3 separate regions of the Homo sapiens genome follow, and regions 1 and 3 are each linked to region 2. The links are contacts of gene promoters, found by promoter capture Hi-C in human tissues and cell types (Jung and others, 2019). All regions are on one chromosome and are shown on one strand. Each heading gives the region's core, a stretch centred on a gene start or on the middle of the fragment in contact. The rest is flanking DNA. Distances are from core to core; before and after follow the strand shown. Region 1 overlaps CGNL1 (cingulin like 1). Region 2 holds the start of CGNL1 (cingulin like 1). Region 3 overlaps CGNL1 (cingulin like 1).

Region 1 (2,700 bases), core at 194-2,693, 35 kb before region 2:
GCAAGACCCTGTCTCAAAAGGAAGGAAGGAAGGAGGGAAGGAGGAATGGAGGGAGGGAAGAAGGGAGGGAGGGAGGGAGGGAGGAAGAGAGGAAGAGAGAAAGAGAGAAAGAGAAAGAGAGAAAGAAAGAAAGAAAGAAGGAGAAGAAGGCCGGGTGTGGTGGCTCACGCCCTAATCCCAGCACTTTGGGAGGCCAAGGTGAGTGGATCACGGGGTCAGGAGTTCAAGACCAGCCTGGCCAACATGGTGAAACCCCATCTCTACTAAAACTACAAAAATTAGTCGGGCATGGTGGCACGCACCTGTCATCCCAGCTACTCAGGAGGCTGAGGCAGGAGAAATCCCTTGAACCCAGGAGGCAGAAGTTGCAGTGAGCCGAGATCGCGCCACTGTACTCCAGCCTGGGTGACAGTGAGATTCCGTCTCAAAAAGAAAAAAAAAGAAACTGAGATACTAAGAGATGGCACTGGGTACAGAAGGAGGGGAGTAGAGCTGGAAGCATGATCAACTCTCATCACATATGAATACCAGAATGGTTGTCATGTGAAAAGAAGATTAAACTTGGTCTGTGTGGCTCCAAAGGTTAGAACAACCAATAAAGAGTAGATGTGCCAGGGACACAAACTCCACTTCAATCGAAAGGGGGAAATGAGCTTTCTCACAGAGATGCGTCAAGATAAACTAGGCTGTTTCAGGAGACAATGAGTTCCCCATGAGGTGGAGGAAGGCAAACAGGGCCTGGCTATCCATTCACAAGCAGGTTTGAGAAAGGAGTCCCGCATCAGCCAGGTTCCTGGGAAATGTGATAATCAAAGATGCCATCTCATATTTACTCAGACAACAATCATCCCTTAACAGATACAGAGAACATCAAGATAATCACACCAAAGAGGCCAGAGGAGAGCAGAGTAAGGAACAGCATTTAAGAGAAAAGAGGATGCAGAGCCACCAAAGAACAAAGGGTTTTCTCCAGATCTTATCTGAGCGTTTTATCTGTACAGAAAAGGTCTTGAGGATAAAAGGCTCCCTGCTGAGTGAAGCTGCCTCTGTCTACAGCTAGGATGAGGGTGGTTCGGGCCACCCACTAACATCCACTGCCTGTGAAACTCCAGCCTGGGACAGAAATAAACGAGAATCTCAGGAGTGACTTTCAGGCACATCACCAGCACCCGTCTGATGCCAACACAAACTCTCCAAACTGTCATCAGCTGGTTGCCCTCTTGGCAGAGGAAGGAAGTCAATCCAAACCTGTCCCAAAAGGAAACCTGCGAATGTCACACAACAAGAAGCTCTGAACGTTAGCGGGGCTTTGAATGCTAGATAATCGACAGCAAACACAGAAAATATGAGCGCTGATGGAATTTTCCAAGAAGCATTTGATGCTCTTGTTTAAAATAAGTAAACTTCCAGGACTAGGAAAGGGGTGGAAGACAGCACCAAGGCTCTCAGTGAGGTTTTTTAAGATATTAAGAAGCTCTATACAGCAGCTGAGCCAAAGGCCAGTGGAATTATCCACATCAAAAGAGAATTGGGGAAGAAAAAAAAAAAACTAGTGAGATCTGGGCCAGGTGCGGTGGCTCATGCTGTAATCCCAGCACTTTGGGAGGCTGAGGTGGGTGGATCACCTGAAGTCAAGAGTTGGAGACCAGCCTGGCCAAAATGGTGAAACCTCATCTCTACCAAAAATACAAAAAATTAGCCTGGCATGGTGGCGGACACCTGTAATCCCAGATACTTGGGAGGGTGAAGCATGAGAATTGCTTGAACCTGGTAGGTGGAGGTTGCAGTGAGCTGAGATTGCGCCATTGCACTCCAGCCTGGGTGACAGAGCAAGGCTCTGTCTCAAAAAAAAAAAAAAGAAAAAGAAAAAAAGAAAACTAGTGGCATCTGGACAGTGCATGGCACAAATATCAGAACAGCTAAACTGCAAGTTCCCTGAGGACAAGGAAAACCAGATCTGGTTTTGACTCCCCAGAGAGATCACAGTTGGTATACAAGAGAACGTCCAAGTGAACAAATATGAAGCCAGCAGTGACTCCAAGAAAGGAGGAACAGGAAGGCTCTAGACAGCTGTGATGATTCTGGAGAAAATAAGCTCGTATTCTAAAAAGGAAGACTCAGAGACCGGCTCATGTCAGAAAAGTCTCTGTGTCTGTGGATGGAGTCCAACATATGACACTCTTTAGTCATATTTTGATATTAAGAAAACATGGCCAATATCACCATCCAACATGGTATAAATGTGATAAATTTTAGTAAGACCTTCAAAAGTTATTTTTTAAAAAACTTGGTCTTTGTGGTACAGTAACAATTATGTTCTCTAAGCTGTTACAGCTTATCTTTAGATTCTTGTATGAAAACACCAACACCACATATTTATCATCTTGTTTTCAAGCAAATCTGATTTTTCCCCACTGAATCTGACAAGACACAAACGTTACGAACTTCAGTCTCTTATTAAGGATTGCATTTTATTTTTTTAGCAAGAGAGAAAAGAAGCTAAAGCGATACAATTACATCCTGACTAATACAAGATTTGAAGGGCACTCCTCATAAGCATGAGAAAATTAAGAGGCAAAAGTTTAGCATTTTGAAAAACTAGTTTAGCAGATAATATAGCCTCCGATATTGTGGAAAGAATTTATTTTATCTTTCTCAATTGTTGTTATTGGACCTCTTCATACTCACTCCTCCCTCCCT
Region 2 (2,700 bases), core at 98-2,597:
TTTTTCTCCTTTTAATCTGAAATCATTCCCGAATATGACAAGTCAAATTATCACTTGGTTTTCCCTGAATAGGACAACCCTGTATTATAACCTTGACCCTGACAAGGACTGCTCGGTTCTAATGCCTACACTCCCACCTCCTTGGCAGAAAGTGCCCTGGCAGTATTGACTGTAAACAGAGAGGTAGAAACAAAGGGATCTTCAGTAAAGGCACCATCTACTGTCTAAAGTTGGAAAGCACCAATCAACAGGTTCTTCAGGTGGAGAGGTGGATTAGGGAAGAGCTATGAGGACCTGAGATGAGTTCTAGATCAGGACTGATCTTGAGCCGTCCGAAGAGTGGCTGGTGGGAGCAACTCTCAAAGCAGAGGTTTTCAAACTTGCCTGCACATTAGAATCACCTGCGGCGTCTTAAAAATTCCATTGTCCAGGCTGCAACCCAGGCAAGCCGAATCCAGATCTCTGGGAGTGGGACACAGGCACCAGTATTTTTTAAAACTCTCCAGATGTGGGGCCAAGTTTGAGAACCAATGCCCGCAAAAGCATTCCCAGCGAGCTTTGAGCAACGTTTTGAGCGGCATAAGCAGAGTCGGGAGGGCAGCGGCCTTAGGGTGAAGAACACACAAAGCAAATATACAAAGTTTCAAAAATCCTGTGTAACTAACTCCAACATGACAGCCAAGTACCTGTCTAGAGGCCAAACAGTGATGCAACTTGGAAAAGTCCCGGGGAGAGCTAGAATGTGTGCTCCGAGTGAGGCGGGGGCTCTCTCGGGGATGACCTCCCTGGGCGGCGCAGTGGTCTGGAGGATCGGGGAGAGAAAGGTCACACGCCCCTTTCTTTCCAGGGGATGGTCCGGCCGAGCACGCCGAGGACTTGTGTACGACAGGATAGGTCAGAAACTGCTTCGTGTGAGTCTCTCCCAGCTGTCACTAGAGCCGGAGGGTCCAGGCAGGGGTGCGAAGGCAGAAAGTCCCTCTTCACTAAAGGGAGGTTCTGCAGGGCCTCCTCCCTCCCACCCCGCCCCGAAGCGGGTTCCCCAGGGATCGCCCGCATCTGTTCTGCGCCTGCCCTCGGCGGGGCGCGGCGCGGGAGTCCGGGTCGCATCTTCGAGCCCCAGGACACGCGCGGCGCGGGTCACCGAGAGTGGACGCGCGGACTGAGCACAGTGCACCTGGCTGAGCCCGAACCCCTGGGGGTCCCGCCGCCCTGGGCGGCCCCTAGCACCCCGAAACCCGGCTGCCGGCGCACACCCCGCCCCGCTCCAGCCCGGAGCTCACTCACCGCCGCCGCCGCCTCCTCCCGCGTCCAGCTCCCGCCGCAGCCAGCAGAGCCCGGCCGGAGTGCAAGGGCCGCGGCGCCGCCGGGAGGCCGAGCGAGCCCGCGCCCCGCCCCGCAGTCGCCGCCCGCCCTCCTGGGAGGAGGGGCAGGGGCTGGCCGGGGGCCTGGACCCGCCGGGGCTGCCGGCGGGCCCAACCCTCCCTTCAATCCGCCCGCGGCCCGTCGGGACGAACCTACCCAGGAACCCCCGCACCACCCGCCCTCGGCTCCGCTGGGCCCGGGGCTGCGCTTAGACCTCACCCCTTCCCGGAGCCGTTCGTCCTTCCACCTCCCCTCCGCCGTCACCGGGCATTTTTCTTCTCCCAGCCTCGGCCTCTCCAAATTCCTGGCCTGCAGGAAGCCCTCCCTATTTCGCGCTCTCGACTGCGCCGAGCTCAGTTTACCCCTTTCCCTTCCTTTCCCTGCTTAGCCTTTTTCCCCCTCACTGTCAGAAACTTAAGGGATAGCGCTCTTCTGCCACCGCAAACCCACACCTATTTATTGAGCACCTACTGTGTCTAGACACTGGTGGGGAGGTTATCCCACTTGCGCGGTAACAAGAAATGTCTGTCTCTGTTGGAGAAACAGTAAAGTGAGGCGCCTCGTAAGGTCACACAGCTGGCGGTAGTAGGGCTGGGATTCGAATACAGTTTTTAGGTCCTTGTTTAGACCCACCCCACGATAAACTGCGGCACGCCTCTCGCTAGCTGTGAGAACTTGGGCAAAATGTTATCAGTTCTAAACCCCAGTTCACTCATCCGTAAAATGAAAAGCTGGATACTTCACCAGCTATGAGGATTCCCTGAGAAAACAACAACCTGTACTTTTTTTTTTTTTTTTTTTTTTTGGAGATGGAGTCTTGCTGTTTTGCCCAGGCTGGAGTGCAGTAGCGCGATCTCGGCTCATTGCCTCTGCCTCCCGGGTTCAAGCGATTCTCGTGCCTCAGCCTCCCGAGTAGCTGGGACTACAGGTGGCCACCACTACGCGCGGCTAATTTTTGTGTTTTTAGTAGAGACGGGGTTTCACCACGTTGGTCAGGCTGGTCTCGAACTCCTGACCTTAAGTAATCTACCCGCCTCGGCCTCCCAAAGTGCTGGGATTACAGATGTGAGCCACTGCGCCCTGCCCAACCTGTACTTAATACATGTTTGCTGACATATTGAATGAAATAGACCCTTGAAAACTTAACAATTCAAAACAATATAAAAGGACTTGAAAAAGTAATAGGTTGGTGCAAAAGTAATTGCAGTTTTGCTATTACTTTCAATGGGAAAAGCCACAGTTACTTTTGCTCCGACCTAATAATAGTGATTCATTGCCAGGAAAGAAAGAAAAAAAAAAAAAGATGCTACTTATCCCAAGTGGGCAGCATGGTCAAGG
Region 3 (2,809 bases), core at 118-2,617, 54 kb before region 2:
GTAATGCTGGTCCACACATCCCCGCCCCACAACTCTAATTCTCAGTGGCACCTCCAGGACCTGCATGCATATTCACCAGCCATTCCAGGGGCCCTGTGGCTACGGAGGAAATGCAACCAGGCAATCTGAAACCTTCACCTTTATGCTGTGGCTGGCCCTTGCCTCCAAGGACAAGAGTCCCCATCAGTCAAGCCAGGCTGGCCCAAGCAATCGGCATAGTACCTAGCATGGGGCAGAGACTCTAGGTATGTTTGCTTTGAACAAGTAATTCTATTTTACCATACAAATCACTTAAAAGAGCATCTAATACAGTGGGTAGAGAGGTGATGAGTCTCAGTGCAGTCTTGAGCTTAATTCTAGGAAATAAGAATTGACCCACCAACCAAAAAGTAATTTCCCCTGAGTGGGATCCTGTGACTGCCTCATTTAAAGAGAAGATACTACCAGGCTGATGATAAACATGAGCTAAAACCTCTAAATCCGGGGTGGCCAATCTTTTGGCTTCCCTGGGCCACATTGGAAGAAGACCAATTGTCTTGGGCCACACATAAAATGCACTAACACTAATGATAGCTGATGAGGTTTAAAAAAAAAATTACAAAAAAAACTCAAAATGTTTTAAGAATGTTTACGAATTTGCTTTGGGCGCATTCAAAGCCATCCTGGGCCACAGGCAGCCCACGGGCCGCAGGTTGGACAAGCTTGCTAAACAGTGGTTAACACATTTACTCCTAAAGGATGTGTCTGTGGAACTAGTGGGAAGACAGAATTTTGTATGGGGATATTCACACTAGAACCTCAACCAGATGAAATTGAAAGATCAGGGTGTGGAAAGCCAAGATTAGCAAAACACATATTAGTTTCAATGTATTCCCTAACATGACAGAAAGAGGCAGCCTTACCTAAACTGAGCTTTATGTTTTCTCTCTACGTGTTTTGTAGTGCAAATGTAGGAAACTGACCAAACTCTTCAGATTTTAAAGGAAGTGTCTTTGTATACAGTCAACCCTTCAGAACTCCCTGGGAAAACAATTTCAAAAATAAACTTGAGGTTTGGAAATGAAAGCAGAGTTGCTCTCTGTTTCACACAGTTCAGGATGGTTCGAATGTCTTCAAATGAACCTGACAACTAAAACTTTTCTATTTGGGGGGAAAAAATAAACTTATAACATTGAGTGCTACAGCTTCCCCCTAAACCCACCTTGTACAAAAAGGAAGATGGCAAAAAAGAAAAGCCTGTAAAAAGGCTCCTTTTACTAGGGTTGGAGACCTAGGAGAATCAACCAGGAGTCTGAAAATCTGGAGTTGGCCAGGCGCACTGGCTCACGCCTGTAATCCCAGCACTTTGGGAGGCTGAGGCAGGTTGATCACCTGCGGCCAGGAATTCGATACCAGCCTGGCCAACATAGCAAAATCCCATCTTTACTAAAAATATAAAACATGAGCCGGCCATGGTGGCGGTCACCTATAATCCCAGCTACTTGGGAGGCTGAGGCAGGGAGAATCACTTGAACCCTGGGGGTGGAGGTTGCAGTGAGCCAAGATTGCACCACTGCACTCCAGCCTGGGCAACAGAGTGAGACTCCATCTCAAAAAAGAAAATGTGGAGTCACTGGGACTCAACTCATCTGATCCACATGGCCTGGCCCTGAGAGCATGGGCACCAAGTGGCTCTCCCCCAAGAAGCCCCCACTTCCCCCTGGAAGTCTACCCGCCTCGTTTCCCTGTGGATGGGTCCCACTTCCCTTGCCCACTTCTCTTAACTGATTAGCACATATATCACCACTTAATTTACGGTGTCCATATGTTATCAATTTAACTTTTACTTTTTAATTTGTATTACTTTAATAAATTCAGTGGTTCGTATTTTATATTCTTCATGGTTACTGAAAAAAATACAGAATTCATGTCCCAAAAAAAGTGTTAGATAAGTCATTCATCCTTTTCACCTCTTGAGGCTTAAAATGATTTCTGAAAGTTTCTCCTACCAGGGCAGAGCTAAGCTACGAAAGTTTAAGGTTCTGAAGACAAGTAATGGCACCTGACTCCGAGATGCAGAAGCAGGAAATATTTCTGACATGCGGCTCAAGTCCAATATTGGCTCTGGAGAAGTTCTTTAATTTCTCTGTTTTCCTGTCTCTAAAGTCAGACTGTCAGTGATGACTTCATAAAGTAATTAGGAAAATCACATATTGTATGCTAAATGAAATGACGAAGATCAGCCGGGCAGTGGCTCACGCCAGTCACCCCAGCACTTTGGGAGGCTGAGGCAGGTGGGTCACTTGAGCCCAAGAGTCTCAGACCAGCCTGGGCAACACAGGGAGACCCCATCTCTATGAAAAATACAAAAATTAGCTGAGTGTGGTGGTGCGCACCTGTAGTCCCAGCTACTCAGGCGGCTGAGATAGGAGGATCAGCTGAGCCCAGAGAGGTCAAGGCTGCAGGGAGCTATGATCATGCCACCCCATGCCAGCCTGGGTGATAGACTGAGAGACCCTGTCTCAAAAAATAAGAGGGATCTGAGAAAGATTTCAATGTAGCATTTATGGGCACAAGAAAGCTGGCTTTGTTCATAAAATGTTTTGAAACACTTATGAGAAAAAGACTAAAAACCCCCACTAATTAACCAAGCAGCATTAACCACCAATATCCTGAAATAATTTATTAACTAATGAAGAAGCCAGAGGGCTAAGAATCTAAAGTACAATGCTATGTCCATAGCGGAGATTTAATAAATATTTGTTGGGTGAATAAATGAACATCTTCATACTGTCATGTACATAGAAAACCTCCCAACCAGAGATAACAG

What was found. Contacts are between HindIII fragments. The study calls those that stand out against the background at their distance.
Region 1: a fragment that was not itself captured here is called in contact with the fragment with the promoter of CGNL1 in region 2 in 3 of the 25 tissues and cell types used here (liver, neural progenitor cells and thymus).
Region 3: a fragment that was not itself captured here is called in contact with the fragment with the promoter of CGNL1 in region 2 in 8 of the 25 tissues and cell types used here (aorta, bladder, hippocampus and 5 more).

Annotation. Positions count from the first base shown.
Region 1 is chr15:57,410,606-57,413,305 of GRCh38, reverse strand. The region is part of intron 1 of CGNL1 (cingulin like 1); the gene reads right to left. Among named protein-coding and RNA genes, the nearest start is that of CGNL1, 35 kb to the right of the region's middle. The HindIII fragment of the contact is 7,628 bases long and covers 1-2,700 here.
Region 2 is chr15:57,375,152-57,377,851 of GRCh38, reverse strand. CGNL1 (cingulin like 1) reads right to left here and starts at 1,347. Exons shown (of 19, transcript NM_032866.5): 1 at 1,285-1,347. The HindIII fragment of the contact is 14,520 bases long and covers 1-2,700 here.
Region 3 is chr15:57,429,520-57,432,328 of GRCh38, reverse strand. All of the region lies in intron 1 of CGNL1 (cingulin like 1), which reads right to left. Among named protein-coding and RNA genes, the nearest start is that of CGNL1, 54 kb to the right of the region's middle. The HindIII fragment of the contact is 4,332 bases long and covers 1-2,809 here.